Linked DNA regions of Homo sapiens: region 1 is linked to region 2. Evidence: promoter capture Hi-C in 16 types of primary human blood cells and fetal thymus (Javierre and others, 2016). All regions are on one chromosome and are shown on one strand. The core of a region is centred on a gene start or on the middle of the fragment in contact, and the rest is flanking DNA. Distances in the headings are between cores, read along the strand shown.

What was found. Contacts are between HindIII fragments. The CHiCAGO score rates a contact against its expected background, and 5 or more counts as called.
Region 1: a contact is called between the fragment with the promoter of MAPK8IP2 here and the fragment with the promoter of KLHDC7B in region 2, in 1 of 17 cell types (endothelial precursors). The highest score is 5.1, in endothelial precursors.

Annotation. Positions count from the first base shown.
Region 1 is chr22:50,599,068-50,602,168 of GRCh38, reverse strand. It overlaps MAPK8IP2 (mitogen-activated protein kinase 8 interacting protein 2), which reads right to left and starts at 1,376. Exons shown (of 12, transcript NM_012324.6): 1 at 1,286-1,376; 2 at 275-380. The coding sequence starts at 1,350. RefSeq lists an enhancer at 497-997 and a silencer at 1,787-1,966. The HindIII fragment of the contact is 20,896 bases long and covers 1-3,101 here.
Region 2 is chr22:50,544,453-50,547,295 of GRCh38, reverse strand. It overlaps KLHDC7B (kelch domain containing 7B), which reads right to left and starts at 1,397. Exons shown (of 1, transcript NM_138433.5): 1 at 1-1,397. The coding sequence starts at 1,052. It overlaps KLHDC7B-DT (KLHDC7B divergent transcript), which reads left to right. Exons shown (of 4, transcript NR_199716.1): 2 at 828-922; 3 at 1,901-2,509. RefSeq lists a silencer at 2,782-2,843. The HindIII fragment of the contact is 20,060 bases long and covers 1-2,843 here.

The DNA of each region.
Region 1 (3,101 bases), core at 127-2,626, 55 kb before region 2:
ACCCAAAGCAAAGGAGCACCTCCCTGCCCCGGGCTGGCCACCGATGGGGTCGGGGAGAATGCTGGGGAAGGCCCTGCGTGGAGGCCTGCAATGTGTTGGAATAAGAGAGAGTTGATACCAAGGAAACCTCAAGGGTTAAGTGGGGAGGAGCCATCAGAGGAGTCCCCGGTTCAAGGCTGAGCTCACACCCACCCTAAAACCCCAAGTGAACGCTAAGAAGAACCTAATGAGGCCCTCCCTTGAGCTGGATCTGTGTCCCCAACTCTTCTCCCACCTTCTCACAGTGGTCTGAGTCGTAGCTGAGGCCCAGGCCACAGTCATCAGTGATCTCAGACAGATCTTCGTCGTCAAATTCTTCCAGGCTTATGTCCTGGGGAGGCCTGGAAAGGAGACCAGGGTCAGAGAGCCACCAACCCTGGACTCCCTGCCTGGCAACTGGCCCTGAGGAGGGGCAGAGGGAGGCGTCAGCTCCTACACCCAGTGGTTTCCACAGCCCCCAGCTCTCGGAACACATCCTGCCATCATCTTGACCCCCAAGCTCTGCTCGCCTGTGGATCCCCTCCCCCATCTGAGCCAGGCCTGCCCGGAGGAGCCAACCCTGCCCCCACCCCTCCCACCCCGCCTCCCTGGAGAGCCAGCAGCCTCTCCTCCCTCCACTCGCAGCTCCAGGCCCCTGGGGTCAGGGTCTTGCAGAGCAGGGGAGGGGGAGCTGCAACGCGGCAGCGGCAGATGGGGAGGGGTCGCTCCTGCTCTGGGAAGAGAGTCTGGCCTGTTTGTCTCCCCCTCTCCGGCGGAGTGAGGCCTAAACCCAGAGGCCCAGCGTCCTCCCAACCCCAGTCCCTTCCCGCAGGGCTCCGGGCTTGATTTCCACTCTCTCCCGGCCGGGCCCTATCGGCCAGGTCTGGCGTCCACTGAAAGAGGCCAAGGCCACCGGGACACGCCGCGCCGGGAGGGTGTGCCCGCATCCCGCCCGCATCCTCCCCCGCAGAGGGTCGGCCCAGGGCCTCCACCCTTGACAGGTCAGCCGTCCAGGCCGGGCGCGGCTCAGAATCCCGGCGGGGCCCGGGGGTCACTGAGGCTGGGGACGCGCGGTGAAGATGGAGGGAGTGGGAGCGGGGTGGGGGTGGGGCGCCCGAGCCGAGGCTCAGGGACCGCAGGGGGCCGGGGCCGGGTCCGCGCCGGCGGCGGGGCTGGGGCGGCGGGGACGGGGGTCCGGGCCGGGTCGGGGTCGGGGGGGTGCGCAGGGAGCGGAGGGTCCGCCCGGCCCGGGCGCCGAGGGGGGTACCTGCAGCCCGGCGGCGACAGCGAGTGGAAGGTGGAGAGAGAAAACATCTCCGCGCGATCCGCCATCTTCTCCGGGAGAGGCCCGCGACTGCGGCGGGGGGTGCGGGAGCCTCGCCGCGCCCCGCGCCGGCGCTCGGCCCGCCCCGCTCACCTCGTGACACGCCCTGCGGCGTCCGCCCCGCGCACCTCGCCCGGACTCCGCGGCGGCGCGGGGAGGGCGGCGGGGGAGGCGGGGGAGGGACGCGGCCGGGGACGCTGGTTGGAGGAGAGGCGGCGGCTTCACTGCCGGGCGCTGGTTGGGGAAGGGCCGGGCGTGCGATGAGGATTTTTCCCGGGGAGGGGCGGGAGGGAAGGGGCGGGCGGGTGGGCGTCGGGCCCCGCCCTGGAGGACCCGCGCGGGGCGGGAGGCCGAGGAGGCAGCGCCGGGGTCCGCGGGCCTCGGGTTCGCCGTGGGCTGTTTCCTCTGGGCGAGAGGCCGGGGCGGCCCCGGGAGCTGCGCCGCCGCGCCCAGGATCCCCCCAGGAACCCTAACCCGGGTGCGGCCCGGAGCGGGGTGGCGGGCGAGGCGGGAGGCGCGGGAGGAGCTGTCCGCCGTCGGGTGCTGATCGGAGCTGTCCCCACGGGGTGCTGACCGGGGCTGCACGGGGACGTCTGCACGAGGGTCGCCGAGCAGGGCTGGATTCAGAATCGAGCACAAGGTACTCAGAGGATGCTGGCTGGGGCTAAAAGTGGACTTTGAGCACTCAGTAGAGACTGCACAGCCGGACGGACGTACCGACGGGCACTGGGAGAAGTTAGCACCCACGGAGGCGACATGCGTCCCACTGGAAACACTTTTTCTTGGGCACCGTGTTGCTGGGCCCTGTGTAGGGAACTGACCCGCTCTGGCTTGGGATGGAGCCCTGTGGGGAGGGCCATGGTTGAAGCTGAGCTCGAGACGGTGGCTGTGGGAGGAGGCGGGAGATCAGGGTTGAGGGCGCAGAACTAGGGAGAGACTGCAGGACACTTTTTTTCTTTCTAAAATAGAGACCGGTGGCTGGGCGCGGTGGCTCACGCCTGCAATCCCACCACTTTGAGAGGCCAAGGCGGGTGGATCACGACGTCAAGAGATCGAGACCAGAGACCATCCTGGCCAACATGGTGAAACCCCGTCTTTACTAAAAATACAAAAAAATTAGCCGGGCGTGGTGGCGGGCGCCTGTAGTCCCGGCGACTTGGGAGGCTGAGCCAGGAGAATCATTTGAACCCGGGAAGCGGAGGTTGCAGTGAGACGAGATTGCGCCACTGCACTCCAGCCTGGCAAGAGCAAGACTCCGTCTCAAAAAAAAAAAAAGAGAGAGAGAGAGACCGGCTCTCTCTGTATTGCCCAGGTTGGTCTCAAACTCCTGGGCTCAGCTATCCTCTGGCCTCAGCCTCCCAAAGTGCTGGGATTACAGGTGTGAACCACAGCACCTGGCTAAATATTGGCTAAAGAAGGAGGCTGGCATTTCAACAAAAGCGCAATCCCTTTTCCCCCTTGATGAAAGTTATGTGCCCTAAGATTTCTTTATGTCTTAGTTCTGCGGAAAATTCTTTTTTTTTTTTTTTTTTTTTTTTTTTTTTTTTTTTTTGAGACAGAACTTGCTCTGTTGCCCAGGCTGGAGTGTAGTGGCACGATCTCAGCTCACTGTAACCTCCACCTCCCGGGTTCAACCGATTCTCGTGCCTCAGCCTCCCGAGTAGCTGGGATTACAGGCAATCACCACCATGTCCGGCTAATTTTTGTGTTTTTAGTAGAGATGGGTTTTTGCCATGTTGGCCAGGCTGGTCCCAAACTC
Region 2 (2,843 bases), core at 148-2,647:
TCTAGCCAGGGGCGCGTGGAGTCTGGGGCTGGGCCAAAGCTCCGGGTGCCCGGGACCTCCCTGCTGACCCAGGGCCAGCCTCCTCCGGGGGCAGGGACCCCCGAGGCCTCCCTGCTCCAGCCACCCTTGGCCCCAGAGCCTTCCGTCTGAGACCCAGGCTGCAGGGCGCGGGGAGCGGGCAGCGCCGGGAGTGCGGGCTCCTGGGCGAGTGGGGGTCCTGTGGGGAGGCCGCGCGCGTGGGCGTCCAGGGCGGCGGCCCCGTCCACCGCGTCCCACACGCTCCCCGCGGCGCCCAGGCGGAGCGGGTCCAGTTTCCGGGGGCGGCGGGCTCTGTCTCCCGAGCCAGCGTCCATCCGCCGCCGCCGGCCCCGGCCTCTCCCCATCGAGCCCGAGGGCCCCGCGCCCGCCTGCCAGGGGCCAGTGTCCTGTTGCCCCGCGGGGCCTGCGGCCTGGCGAGAGGACGCCCTGACACCACCTGTCTCCGCCTCCGCTTCGCTGCCAGGGCTCCGAGGAGTGAAGTGGATCAGGAGGGGGGCGGACATCCCCCCTGCTTCGCTCCTGCCCAGGAGGGCAGTGCCTGGCCTGGGAGGCTCCTTTCCTTCCGCTCGGGGGGCCGCGGGGGTGGCACTGCCCCGTTGCTGTCCTAATGCCTCTCTGCGGGCCTCCTCGACAGCCGTCTTGAGTGGAAGCCGGGCCATGGCGGCCAGGCCCCCGCCCGGCGCTGCAGCAGGGACAGGGCTCTGCTGGCCGCGTCCTGGGGGCTCTGGTTTCCCCTGCCCTGGGCTCTGCCCCTCGCTGCCATCACTGACCTTAGACTTCGGTTGCAGGGCCAGCTCAGCTCCTCCTGCCTGATGAGGTTGAGCCCCGAGGGCTGTGGACACCGGTTCTGCCGCCTCTTGATCGTGCCCGGAGCCAAACCAGTGTAAGGCCAGCGCTGTGGCAGCCACCACAGCCAGCGCCAGGAGGGCCAGCACAGCACTATCCCAGTCATTGTCACTGTCCCAGTCCCAGCCCCAGAGGGGACCATCTGGCTCCAAGGTGCCCTGGATCATGGTTCAGGGCTGCAATAGAGGCCTGATGGCAGGCTGGCAGTGCATGCAGAGCACAGAGGCCTGGGCTGAGGCACCGGCCAGCGCCTGCCCCAAGGGCTGCCCAGTTAAGGTGGACCAGTCCTCCAGGGCCTGGGAATGGTGGGGTCTCTGCTTGCACTCAGGCCTGGGGGTGTCAGTAGGGCCTGGCTGCAGATATCAGGAGACAGCGAGGCTTATGGCAGGATAGGAGCCCAGGGTCTCTGCAAGCACCCCACCAGCTCCTGCCCTCTTCTCCTCCTCGTAGGCCCCAGGGTCCTCAGGCAGCGTTCCTGAGCTCTGTGCTGTCATCACAGCCAACCTGCTTCTGCCTGGTAGACCCTCACACCCCTAAATTTATTCCACACCCCACAGTCCCTCCTCTCAGCCTGGGCCCAGCTTCAGGGGGCTTGGCAGGGAAGGGTTACCCACAGGGAGATGTTATCTCTAGCTCTAGCAATGTGATGTGGCCCTGATGAAATCACCAGAAACCGGAGAGGCTGATTCCACTGTGGGCCAGCAGGGGAGGGGTGGGGGCCGTGCACGGGAGGGTGCAGGCTGTGCCTGACGGTGGTCTCTCAGGCTGAAGAGGGAGACCCTGGACACGGGTCCTGGCAGTGAGCATTATCATTGCAGGGGTGCTGTGGAGGTTTGTACTGGGGCACAGGGAGGGGGCATAGAGAGGAGACTGAGGCTCCCATAGCTCCTCCTCCAGCAGCTTTTGGACTCCTTACTCTGGGTTTACCAGACATGGGATAGGGTTATCAAGTCAAGAGAAAAAAAAAATTAATGGGATAAATAAAATCCAAACATATTTCTCTCTTTATGGCCAGGCTTATTTCAGCCCACCTAGACCTTCTAGGATCTCCTGGACCCCCTGCGCCCATCGAGAGTGTCTTGACTGCCCAGATGAGACTCTCACTGTGCCCCTGGAGAACCCTGAGCCCAGCCTGCCCCCTACTCCAGTTACCGCATCAGCCAGCACCTGGATCCCTTAGAAACCACCCCCCTCTGGCCCCAGGTGCTCTAATAGCCAGACTCTGGGTGTCTTCATCTCAGTCCTCAGCCTTCCCTTATCTGAGCTGAGGACTCGCCCTCGAGACCACATCCTGGCTGGTACCTCCTAGCCCTGGCTCAGGCCGGCATGTAGGTACTTCTGTTGGATGTGAGCACTTGCTTCCTGAGGGAGAAGCCTGGGCTCCTCCACCTGCTCCTTGCTTAATCCCATCTCAGGAGTGTCTCGGGCCAGGTGCCAGGTGAGGCTCAGACAAGAAAAAGAGCCTGGAGTCCCTGGGACAAAGGCAGGGCTCCCTGGAAAGTACCGTGTGTATTTTTCCTTCCTCTGGGACACAGCAGGCCTGGGGATTTCTCCCTTACTCAAGCAGCAAGGAGATGGCCTAGGAGTGTCCCTGGCACCCAGCCTGAACCCTACTGAGCCTCAGGTAACTCACCTCCCAGCTCCCCCTGGGACTATTAGATGACAGGGAGAGGGTGAGGGTGGGCCCCATGCCTTAAGGTGGACCTCAAGTTGAGGGAAGGCTTTCTAGACCGTGCCCTTATTCTCTGTCCCAGTCTCAGGCTCTGCCTCTTGGTTAAGTTTGGGGTCCAGAAACCTTCAGAGGATGGAGATGACACCCATAAATATTAGAGACTGAGTAGGGGGCGGGAAGCGGTGGCGGCAGCGCACCCCCGGGGTGCAACTGCCCTGGAACTCCAAGTGGTGGCTTCAAAACTGGATTAAAATTTATTTCCGCGAAACCCTGGAGTCACGGTCCG